Regions from separate parts of the Homo sapiens genome. Here region 2 is linked to region 1. Evidence: promoter capture Hi-C in 16 types of primary human blood cells and fetal thymus (Javierre and others, 2016). All regions are on one chromosome and are shown on one strand. Each heading gives the region's core, a stretch centred on a gene start or on the middle of the fragment in contact. The rest is flanking DNA. Distances are from core to core; before and after follow the strand shown.

Region 1 (5,647 bases), core at 1,047-3,546:
AGAGGCACAGTGGAAGGCTGTTGCCTCCAACTCCGCGCTCTCCGTCACCAAGACGAAAACGCCTGGAACCGGAGCACGATGACGCCGAGAAGACAGAAACTCAGAGCGTCCGACGCCTCGCGTCTGGGCGGTCGTGCCCGTTCACTCACACGCCGCTCTGAGTGGTTTGGCGAACCTCACACGTGACTCCCTGGGCCCTTCACCCCTCCTGCCGCCGCGGGCGCTGCGGAAGCTGCGGGCGGAGGACGCTCGGCTGCCGCGGGAGGAGTAAGGGAGGAGGGCGGAACTTGTAAAGGGAGGGGCCATCACCAGCACCAAGTCTGCCACCGCCGGACCCGCGCCCCCGAAGCCCACCCCCACCAAGATCGCGCCTCCGACCGGCGGGAGGGGCGCGCAGGGGAGGGGACGCTGTGCAATAAACCGGGCGGGGAGAGGGAGGCAGCGGAGGGAGTCCTGGCTCTGAGGGGGGCAGGATTGGGTCTGGAGGATGGTCTGGCTTGATTCAGACTCCTGCACCCGACAACGCCACGGAGTGAGGGGAGAGGGAGAGAGAGAAGGTGGCAGTGTGTGTGCGCGCGTGTACGTGTGTGTGTGCGTGTCTACAGGTAGCAGTGGCGGCGGCGGCGGCGGCGGCGGGGACCGGAGCAGGGGACGCATCTGCAGCCACCTCCCCGCCTATGATTTTCGGAGGCGATTGCTCACTTAGCTGAGGATCTGTAGCCCCGGGAGATCTTCTCATCCTCTCCATTTCCAAGCTTCATAGGTGTCTTCCAGTTTCAAGTGTGTGTTTTGGGTATTTTATTTTTAATTTTTTTCCTTCTCCCTCTAAATCTTCTCGGAAATTCTGCATATTGAAGCAGGTGGCTCCTGGTACGAAATCTCTGGATACATTTGGCTTGCCAAGTTTTGCTCTTCGCTGTCCCCTCCCGTTTACAGAAGCATCTGTGGTGCTTTTCATTTTGGATTTACATGCAGGAAACGTATATATGTTTATATACCGACCGCATAATATATAAATACATATACGCGTGCCCAAGGGCCTGGTTTTCGTCTCTCCTCCCCACGAAACGGAATGTTTTGGAGCCGATGGATAACAAGAACACTATTAACATTCTTTTGAGCCTGTTTTTTAAAAGGGGGAGGGAGCGTGAAGAATTGTTTAACATTTGGCCATCGTTTGGCTGCACACTAAGCACCACGAAGTATTTATGGTTGCAGATCAGGTGCAAACGGGGCTTAGAGAGAAAGGTAAGGGAGCTTCCTGCGTCCGCCGAGCTCCGGCGTTTACCTTAATCCCGGGGATTGCCGAGAACTTCCTATTCCCTGCCTCTCCTTCGCCTTCCCCACCTTCCACCCACCCTTCTCTGCTCTCTCTCTTCTGTAAACTCAACCCTTTTCCAATCCCATTGGGGTGGGGGTGGGGGGTGCTGGAGGTATAATCGTCTATTTGAGTTTAAATGCGTCTCTCTTTCCCAGGCTAGTAGCTGAGTTTTCCAATAGCCTTTCTGGCGGTTTTAGGAAATCGTGTCCTTTATAAAAAATAATGCTACCTAAATAAGTGTTTTAAACATCTGAAGATGCCAGTCCCTCACCCTATCCTCTGATGAAAATAAAAGCAATAAAAAATAATGAACTTTAATAAACTGGGTGGTTTTTTTTAAGCGTTGGGGTTCATGGAAGCTCCCAAACGCTTTTTTTCATTTAAAAAGAAAGATAACCAGCAAACAAACCAATCTCAGGAGGAGTCCACAGTGGAGGAGATTCGCCTTCCGTTTCTGCATAAAACCAATACATTTTACTTGGAGGGTAATTTGCCAGAGTTGAGCGAGACGAAGCCGTGTCTAAATAAGTACATGACACTAAATTTCCTTTTAAATCCACCTTTTACACCATGGCCAGTCGCTTGTTTAACTCCCGTTCAAGGGACACGGTTTTCAAACGTGACCTTTTGGGGAGATGTGGGAACTTCCCCTCATTTCTTCTTCTGTGCCGCTAACCTCTTTCCTCCTCCGCGCGGCATCTCCAGCCCCGGCAGTTTGTAAATTGCCCGTTTTGCCCACCCTCCTGGTGGGCGTTCTCTCCCCCACTCCACTCCTGCCCCCTCTGTCCTTTCTTCATTGGCGTCTTCGGAGCAGATGCATCTTCTTTCTTCTTGGCCTCACTCTCCCGTTCCCCCGTCAGTCCCCCCACCCGCGGCTCCCCACTTGCCCCAGCTCTCCTCGCCGCTCCTCCCCGCCTCCCCGCGGAGGGTTGACCCTTCAATTCGGAGTCCCGGCCTGTGGGCGGGCGGGGGAGCGCCGCGGCTGTAAGCCGAGGATCAGGCGGCGGCGCGGAGAGCGCGCCCGGGCGGCCAGCGCCGAGCGCGCGGAGCTGGCGTGGGGAGACACGGCAGGAAAGGCGAGTCGGAGTGGGTGATGAGAGGCCGGGAGAGCCCGTCCGAGCCGGAGAGACCGGAGAGAAGGGAGCGAGCGACTGTGCGGCGCTCACGCTGCCAGAGCCCGGGCGGAGTGCAGTCGCCTCCAAAGCCTTAGAGCGGCGCCCCAGTCACTGCAGCTCTTCACCCTAGAGCTGTGCCCTGGGACCACAGAGACCAAGAGCATGGAAATCGGCTGAGAGGTACAAAAGAAATAAGGAACAGATTACGAGAAAGCGGGGAGGGTTTCCTGGCGAAATACGGAGGCTGAGCAGATGGAGGAACAATGCCGCCTCCAGAAGAAAACCCTTGCCTGAACCCTCGGCGGAGCGCAGAGGAGCTGCTTTCAGCCTTCTGCTCTCCCCAGGCCCTCCGGCTAGTTCTGGGGTTGGTTCCGCCGGTTAGTTTGACAGGGATAAGAAAGTTGCTCTTCTTCCCCACAACGTTTCCTGAGAGGTGGTTTTCAGATCTGTGTGTTTCCAGTCAAGATGTCACTCCCTAGATCCCCCGCGTTGAGCAACTAATATATTATGCATTATTGGGCAATAAACTCTCCTGGGAAGAGAAGGTATTCCAAACATTTAAACCGTTCTCCACCGACTCCTGCCCGCCTCAACACAATGCCTTGTGAGTAGAAATGAAAAACCACCTGAATTTAAAATTATTTAGGTTGAGATTTTGCATTGGGAATAATTTCTTCCAGAGGAGGTTGTTAGTGTGTTATAGAGATGAGGGATATTACATGTCCAATATTTGATTCATTTGTGATAATTCTAAATCATGAACAGTTGGCCTCCACAAAGGTACTATTTCTTTTTGCATTTCCAGGGCCATAGTGATACATATAACACTTGGGAAACGTGAATTCGTATAGTTAACCCAGTATCTGTTACTCTGCATTTTTACAGGTAGTTAATATACTCATTTTCCCTCTTTTTATACTCAAACTCCGGTAGACTATTTTTGCTTAAGTCAATTGAGTTGTCATGCTGTACATGAAAATTACAGGGTCTTAATGCATTTCTCACCATTAATTGTGCTCAATTATTAATAGGATCATAGATATTAAAATGTCACTGAGAAAGGGTATGTGTACCTATGTTTGAGTGTAAAACCTATAAAATGTCTCAGCATTTCTATCAGCCATTGTAACCTAGCAGAACACAAGGTTTTTGAAATGAGCTCAGAAGCAAGGGCCATTCATATATTTAAAATATTAAATGTTAAATGCAAAAACATTAAATTTACTGTGCCTTTGGCAGAGAATGAATCTAAGTCTACTTGCACTGCAGAGTGATTGAGTGATTCACAGAGAAAGTGGAAGTTAATCATTACTCAGGCCTTCTGATTACATGGTTTGATTAAAAGAAGTAACTGTTTTCTGTAAGCCTGCTATTCTGCAGTTAGTCTTCCCAATCCTCTTAACATAAGCAGAAATTGAGGGAGTCAATCTTTCAGCAGATTCTACTAGAGTTCCAGTAGTGTGGAGTAAGAAAAGCTTCTTTAGTTCCCGTCCTTCCCATTGTCTCCCTTCTTCCACCCCCAAAGTACTTGCTGTCAATCTTTTCTTTATTCCCTCAGTATAGTTTTATTTTGTGAAATTTTCCACTTACATTTAGTAATAACATATTTTCAAATGTAAATGTTTGAATGGCTTTGAAGTTGAAGGTGAAATATACACTTAAAGAAGGTAGGCTGAGAACTCCATTGGTTTCATTTGCAGGGTGTTGGAAGGCCTGATGACCCTATGCATTCCTGGATGACTTTCTTGGATCACTCTCCAAAGTCTCTTCCAACTCTGAAATTCTTATATTTTATTCTGCTTTTACTATTTTCACATGGTTATCCAGTGCCAAGATCTACATATCCCTTCAAATTACATTAAACTAGCTGTTTCTGGTTTTCTTTATAGGATAATTAAGTAGCTAGAACTATAAAATACAGTTATAAATCTGAGATCTGAGTTTTTTATAAAATTTTTCACATACATTTTAATGCTATTGACAACTTTTTGTGAGACAATATTAATACAGATATAGCTTTGAGTGACGTATCTCTCTGGGTTTTCATGTATTGAAACAGTTTTTAACATAGTAATGGTTTATCTTGATAATTCTTTATTATTTTTACACAAAGGAGTTATTTCACAAATTACCTAACAAATACTAATTTGTAGTTTTTGTAAGCAAAACACAGTTAAAAGTAACAGTAGTATTAGAAACTGCAGCTGTGTAACATATACCTTTGCCACATTTTAAAGGCTTAGTTTTTGAAGTGAAGTTTGCAGTCGGTTTCCATCTTACTGGATTGTCAATAGGAAGATATGATTTTTCAGTTATGTTTTAATTATCTGTAAATGAAATCACCAAAGTCCAGTCTTCTAGACTTAATATTATTATTATTATTTCTGAAATATAGGTATGATCTTATTAACATTGGCCAGTGGCTCCTTATAGATTATTACATGCCAAAGTCCACAACCCTAATGCCACTCAATGCTTTTCACAATTCATTCTTAAACCTCCTTATGTAGATTAAAACACTGTCCTCCTGGCCCCCCTTCTGAATTCACTCTTTAGTCCATTCACAAGACTCTTAATTACTATTTTCCCCAACACTACATACCATTTTAGGATTTTGTGGTTTGCTTATGCTAATCTTTCTTCATTGATCCATTCCCTGCCCCTCTACCCCACCCCACCAAATATACACCAATGATAGGACAGAAAAACATTTTAGTTCCTTGGGTGGTCTTTCCTTCATCATGATGCTTCCTTCCTGTACCCTTACTCTGAGCTCCCACAACACAGTATTTATACTGGGAGTAGCCCACCTTTCACACTTCTAATGGTTGGCTTTCTCACTGCACAGTGAATTGCCAGAGATCAAAAGACATGCCTGATTTATCATGTCATTCGGAAATGATAGCTTACCTTTATGTCTGAACATAGAGTCTACCATAAATGAATAGTAAATGTATTATTTATAAATATATTTGGCTATGAAGTAACAGAAAACTTGGCTAACCGTGGATTAAGCAAATAAAGCTTTATTTATCTCACATAATAAAAAGTCAGGAGAAGAGAGTTGCTTAAGCATTTTATCAGGCTTCTTCTATTATCTCGAAACCTTTCTTCTCATGGGCACAAGGTCACTGATGTGCCTCCAAACTCGTGTCTGTCTTTGGGGCCCAAAATGGGGGAGAAGAAGATAACAGTATTCTACCTCAGGGTT
Region 2 (5,131 bases), core at 729-3,228, 1.0 Mb after region 1:
CGGCGCCGCGGGCCCGCGCGTTCGAAATGGCGCGCAGCACAGTTCCGCCCCCGCGCGTGGAATGCCGCTCCAGTGGACGCCCAGGATGGCTTTCTTAAGGAAGTTTATGAGAAGCCATGGAAAGAGCAGCCTGGGATCAGAGCCTGCGCTGCTGGTTCTACCCTAACGTCTGGCTTACTACCACATTTGCCCTACAGTTGCATTGCTTCATAGCTCGTCCTCCCTATTTTCCCCCACATTCTTTGCTTTTTTTTTTTTTTCATTTTTCCTTTGTATTGCGTCTCTTGGTGCCTTGTGTTCTTTTCCCCCTCACTTTTAGAATAGCAATTGAATAGCATACAGTAGCCTTTACATTTCAACCTATGGTCCTTAAGCTGTCTTTATTTACTAGGGCTTGCATCCTGAGGAGTGTAAAGGATTAATTAACTGTGGATTAAGTTGCTGGACTGAAAGTTGTGTTGCAGTTATCCCTGCGGAACAGAAAAGATAGACTTTTTTTTTAACCACCCGAGAACCTTAAGATAATGGTGTTGCTTCTGTTGAAGGAATACATCTTGACAAACATTAAAAATTATGTCATAGGATCCTGTAGTATCCACTCCAGTGAGTTCGATTTGGTAACGGTTCTTTGTCATCTGTGAGTTAGATTCTGTGCTGACTGGTGACAGGTTAACAGAGAAGAGATTCCGTTCCTGTCCTCAGGAGAAGGGACCATGGTGAGCACTGGCTTAATCCTACGAAGTGCTCTGGGAGAATGGGGGAGGAAAAGCTTAAAAGGAAGAGTTGGGTTTAAAACTGGATTCTTGGTATTTTAAGTACGATTTTCACCATTTTTTCCCACACCCCAAGAATTCTTAATGGAAAGGGGAATTATTTTAACAATACTTTCACCTTTAATTTTTTAGAGATTTTTTTTCTCCTTTACAATCGGCAGTAATGTCTGATCTCAAGACTTATGGGAAATGTAAAAGTAACTCCTCTTAATAAGGATGACGTAATGCATTCCTGATAACATAAAAAGAGTATTAAAGACCTTTAATGTAGGACGACTAACAAGAATGAAATGTAATTTATTAATTGCTTACATAAAGCATTATTATATTTAGGTAGAACACTCAATACTTATTAGTCAACAATTGTTTGTTGATTGCTTACTGCGTGCCAAGCAGTGTTCTTGACACTGGAATAAAGCAAAGAAGAAACTTCTGGCTTCTTGGAATATACATTCTAGTGGAGGGAGACAGTATATGTAGTACATAAGAAAAATATAAGGTGAAACCGTAATAAGTGCTATGGACTTATTACATAAAGCAGGAAAAAGAGTGTGTGTTTAGTAATTTAAAATAGGATTTTACCGGAAGTCCTCTGGAGAAGGTGACATTTCAGTAGACTTGAAGCAGTTGAGGGAGTAAGCCATATATTTGGGGCAAGAGTTTCCGGGCGCAGAGAAATAGCAAGTGCAGAGGCCGGGCACATTGCTGTGTTCAGGGATCAGCAAAGAAGCTTGTGTAGCTGAAGTGGAATGGAGGATAGAGGAGAAGTAGGATATGGGATTTTAAATGTCATAGGGGCCAGATAGTACTACATGGTCTGCTAAGCTATTGTAATGATAACCTTTACTTGAAGCCATTTGGAGGCCATTGGAGCCTTTTGACAAGAGGAATGACATGATCTAACACATCTGTTTGATACCATTACTCTGCCTACTGTATTGAGAACAGACTGAAGAAAGCAAGAATAGAAGCAGGGATAACAGTTAGGCTATCATAATTTATGTGACAGATCATGGTGGCTTAGACCCGGATGATAGCAGTGGAAGTGGTGAGTAGTTCATATTCTGTATATATATTTTGAGGGTGTATTCCTCAGGGTTTGCTGAGAGATAGGATATGGAATGTGAGAGCAAAAGAAATTAAGGAGAATGTAATTGCCTAAGCAACTGGAAAGATAAGAGTTTCTGTTAACTGAGATTGGAAAGAACAGGAAGAAGATGTAATTGGGATTAAGAATCTGGATTTGGATATGTTAGGTGTTAGATGGGTTTTAGATATCCAAATGGAAATGTCAAGCATGCAGTTAGCTGGAAGACCAAGCTAATGGCATACATTTAGGACTCTTCATCATATAGCGGGTTGTAAAAGCGAAGAGATTGAATGCATCAAAAGTGTGTGAGTTTAGAATATTGAAGATGACCAGGGACCAGACTTTACGTCATAAAATCTGGTACATAATGGTGTACGTCAGCATTATGAGATGAGGAGAAACCAAAAAGGAGTCTGAAAAAGAGCTGCATTCCATGTAAAAGGGAAAGCAGGAGAATATGGAATCCTGGAAGTGTTTCAAGAAGTAGAGGGCTGATCAGTTGTTTTAAAGATGAGGATTGAGAATTAATCTAGCAAAGGAAATCATTGATGACCATGATGTTGCCAGTTTTCATGGAGGAAGTAGACATGAAAGCTTGTTTGTAATGTGTTTGACAGAGTAGAAAGACATTGAAGAAGGTGATGGTATACATCACTTGAATATTTTTATTGAAAAGGGAGGGAGGAAATGGAGCGTTAGTTGTAGGACCAGATGATGTAAAGAGAGTTTTTTAAAGTGTACAAAACAATGGCATGTTGTGATACTAATGAGAAGGAGCCAATAGAGAACAAAAAATTGATGATGCAGGAGACAGAGGGGAATGCTGTTCACGAGGAGGTGAGAAAGGATACATGCATACAACAAGAGAGACTATCTGTTGCTAGGGTTATGAGCTATTTACCTAGAACAAATGAGAGAAGGAAAAGTGTGGGGGCACAGATGGAGGTGGGGAATGTGGATGTTCTATTTGGATCCCTTCTCTTTTCTCATTGTTTATGAGATCCAGGTGTGGTACATGAGAAATTTGTAGGAATCATTACCATTTTTTCCATTTGGTCAGGAATATTTGATGAAAGAATACTTTGAGATTCTAAGAATTGCTTGAAACAGAAAACTTTGTGCATTGTTGAGGACAGAAGGGGGATTTCTGCCTTGAGCTTTGCTTAGGAGAAGACTTAAAGAGAAAGTGGAGATTACAAGATAAAAGGGGAAAAGGAGGAAATAAGGCAAGCTAAATCATATGATGAAATCCCTGAGAAGGGATCTGATGAGGAAGTTAGCAACATTGAGTCTCACCTCCCGTGGAGCTTATAACTACAGTAACGTTCTAAGAATATTACCGTTATTATCAAACAAACTCTTTTCTGTTTAAGTACCAAGTGTGATCAAATGGAGAACAGTGTTGTCACCAGTGGTCAGTCTAATTATAGAATGGTGGTATTAAATCTTGGAAGAGATGTTAGTTAGGATTAGATTTCAGATTGGATTTTGAAAATGTGAAAAACAGCGATTGGCAACAAATATCATTTGAAAATGATGTGAAAAAGACTGGATTGGCAACATAGGTTGTAGATGTATGGTAGAATTTTGACAACATTACTCATAGATATTGAGCAGTTTGACAAGATGGAGAGAATTGATAGAGTTGGAAATGGAACCTTGTTTGAGATTTTTTTTTTTTTTTCAGTTATTTAGGGACCATTTGTTTCTTGAATTCTTACTATAAAACAGGGTTCTGCGTAAAGTCTTGGCAGGGGATGGTGATAACCACTATGTAAATGACATCATCTCTGCCCTCAATTTACCATTTTTAGTAGAGTGAGGAGAAGGGAATATATGTAAATATTGCAATACAATTGATAAATGCCTTATGAAGAGTACTGAATGCTTTTAGGTTGTTAGGTTTCCAAACATATTTCTTTTATTATGTAAATTATCAGACACGCAAAGGTAGAATAGTATAATGAACCCCAGTATATTCAGGAGTACGTCTCATTAGTCTATTTCATAATTCATACAAAAGATTAGGAGTTAGGGGCCTATAATTATAGTCCCAGTTATGTCCCCAGGTAGTTTTGTGCCCATGTCTTTCCTGGCCTTCAGTTTTTTACTGAAAAATGAGGAGGCAGCTCAAGATCATTTTTAAGGCTTCCTACAGTTCAAAAATATTTTGATTGTATAGTTTTTTACGTGGTACATTCAAAGAAATAGATGAGACAGCTATACAGGAGAACTAGGTTTGTTAAGGGAAAAATTAAGCTCCCCTTCTACCTCTCTTTCCTCACACATATATAACTATTAGATGTCGGCATGCACATATGATGTAACTATAAAGTTGATGTGATTTATATGTGGTTTATTAAAATCTATAGTGATATTTGGTATATAGGAGTAAAATATATGACCTTATGTTTGTGTGTTTTCTATTTGTGTAACAGAATAGATATTTTTTCCCTTTGAGCCAAAAAACATGCGATTATATGAGAAGTGAGTCTTGATGAAGTCCTTGACCTCTCTGATCTGCTCTGACCTGCATTGTGCCTAATTTTTTGTTTGTTTTACCAAACAAAATTTGATTCATTGCTTAATTTGTTTGCCAGTTAAAAGCAAACAGTATTCCTGAAATCAAGGTTTTCTGTTTTGCACTGTTGCATGGGATATTGATGTCAGACAAAATTGTAATTTAATTGTTTTGACATTTTGATCTGAGCAGTTCAGATAAGAAAGGTGATTTATCTTGCCCAGAAACCTCATATTTTGAGCTCAGCATGAATTTTCCCTAACTGCTTGTTTATAAATGTGGTTTCTAAAAAATTAGACTTTCATCATATTGGGAATTTATGCTCTGGGTATTAATTACCAAGGTACAATTTGATAGGAATATAGTAGAGATATTTTAATTTTTAGATGGTCAGTCATGAAAAACTTCAGAAGTGCTATGAATCCTTTAAAAGAAAGTGAAACTTTCATACTTTCAAACTTATATTCTTTGTATATAATATCACATGTGAATTTTTAAAGTAGTACAAATGGCTTTTTGCTCTTTTACAATCTTGGTATATAAAATTACTCATGAAATTCTTTAGTTTTAGGATTTTAGCTATTATATTGGTCAAACCTTATACTTTGCATAGTCTGTGCTTTTGTACTCCTGTTCATCAAGTACAATTATCATTGGTGATAAAGTCACTTCAAATAATGCATCCCTAAGTGATCATGCTATCTCTTTAAATAGTATGTGTGTGTGTATGTGTGTATTTTCATTTCA

Evidence for each region. The method cuts DNA at HindIII sites, captures the fragments that hold promoters and counts their contacts. A CHiCAGO score of 5 or more calls a contact.
Region 2: a fragment that was not itself captured here is called in contact with the fragment with the promoter of NLGN1 in region 1 in 1 of 17 cell types (endothelial precursors); the score reaches 5.2 in endothelial precursors.

Annotation. Positions count from the first base shown.
Region 1 is chr3:173,395,448-173,401,094 of GRCh38, forward strand. It overlaps NLGN1 (neuroligin 1), which reads left to right and starts at 2,297. Exons shown (of 7, transcript NM_001365925.2): 1 at 2,297-2,616. RefSeq lists silencers at 151-230, 251-340 and an enhancer at 566-1,065. The HindIII fragment of the contact is 3,156 bases long and covers 754-3,909 here.
Region 2 is chr3:174,441,480-174,446,610 of GRCh38, forward strand. It overlaps a transcript of NAALADL2 not described here. Among named protein-coding and RNA genes, the nearest start is that of NAALADL2, 420 kb to the right of the region's middle. The HindIII fragment of the contact is 954 bases long and covers 1,502-2,455 here.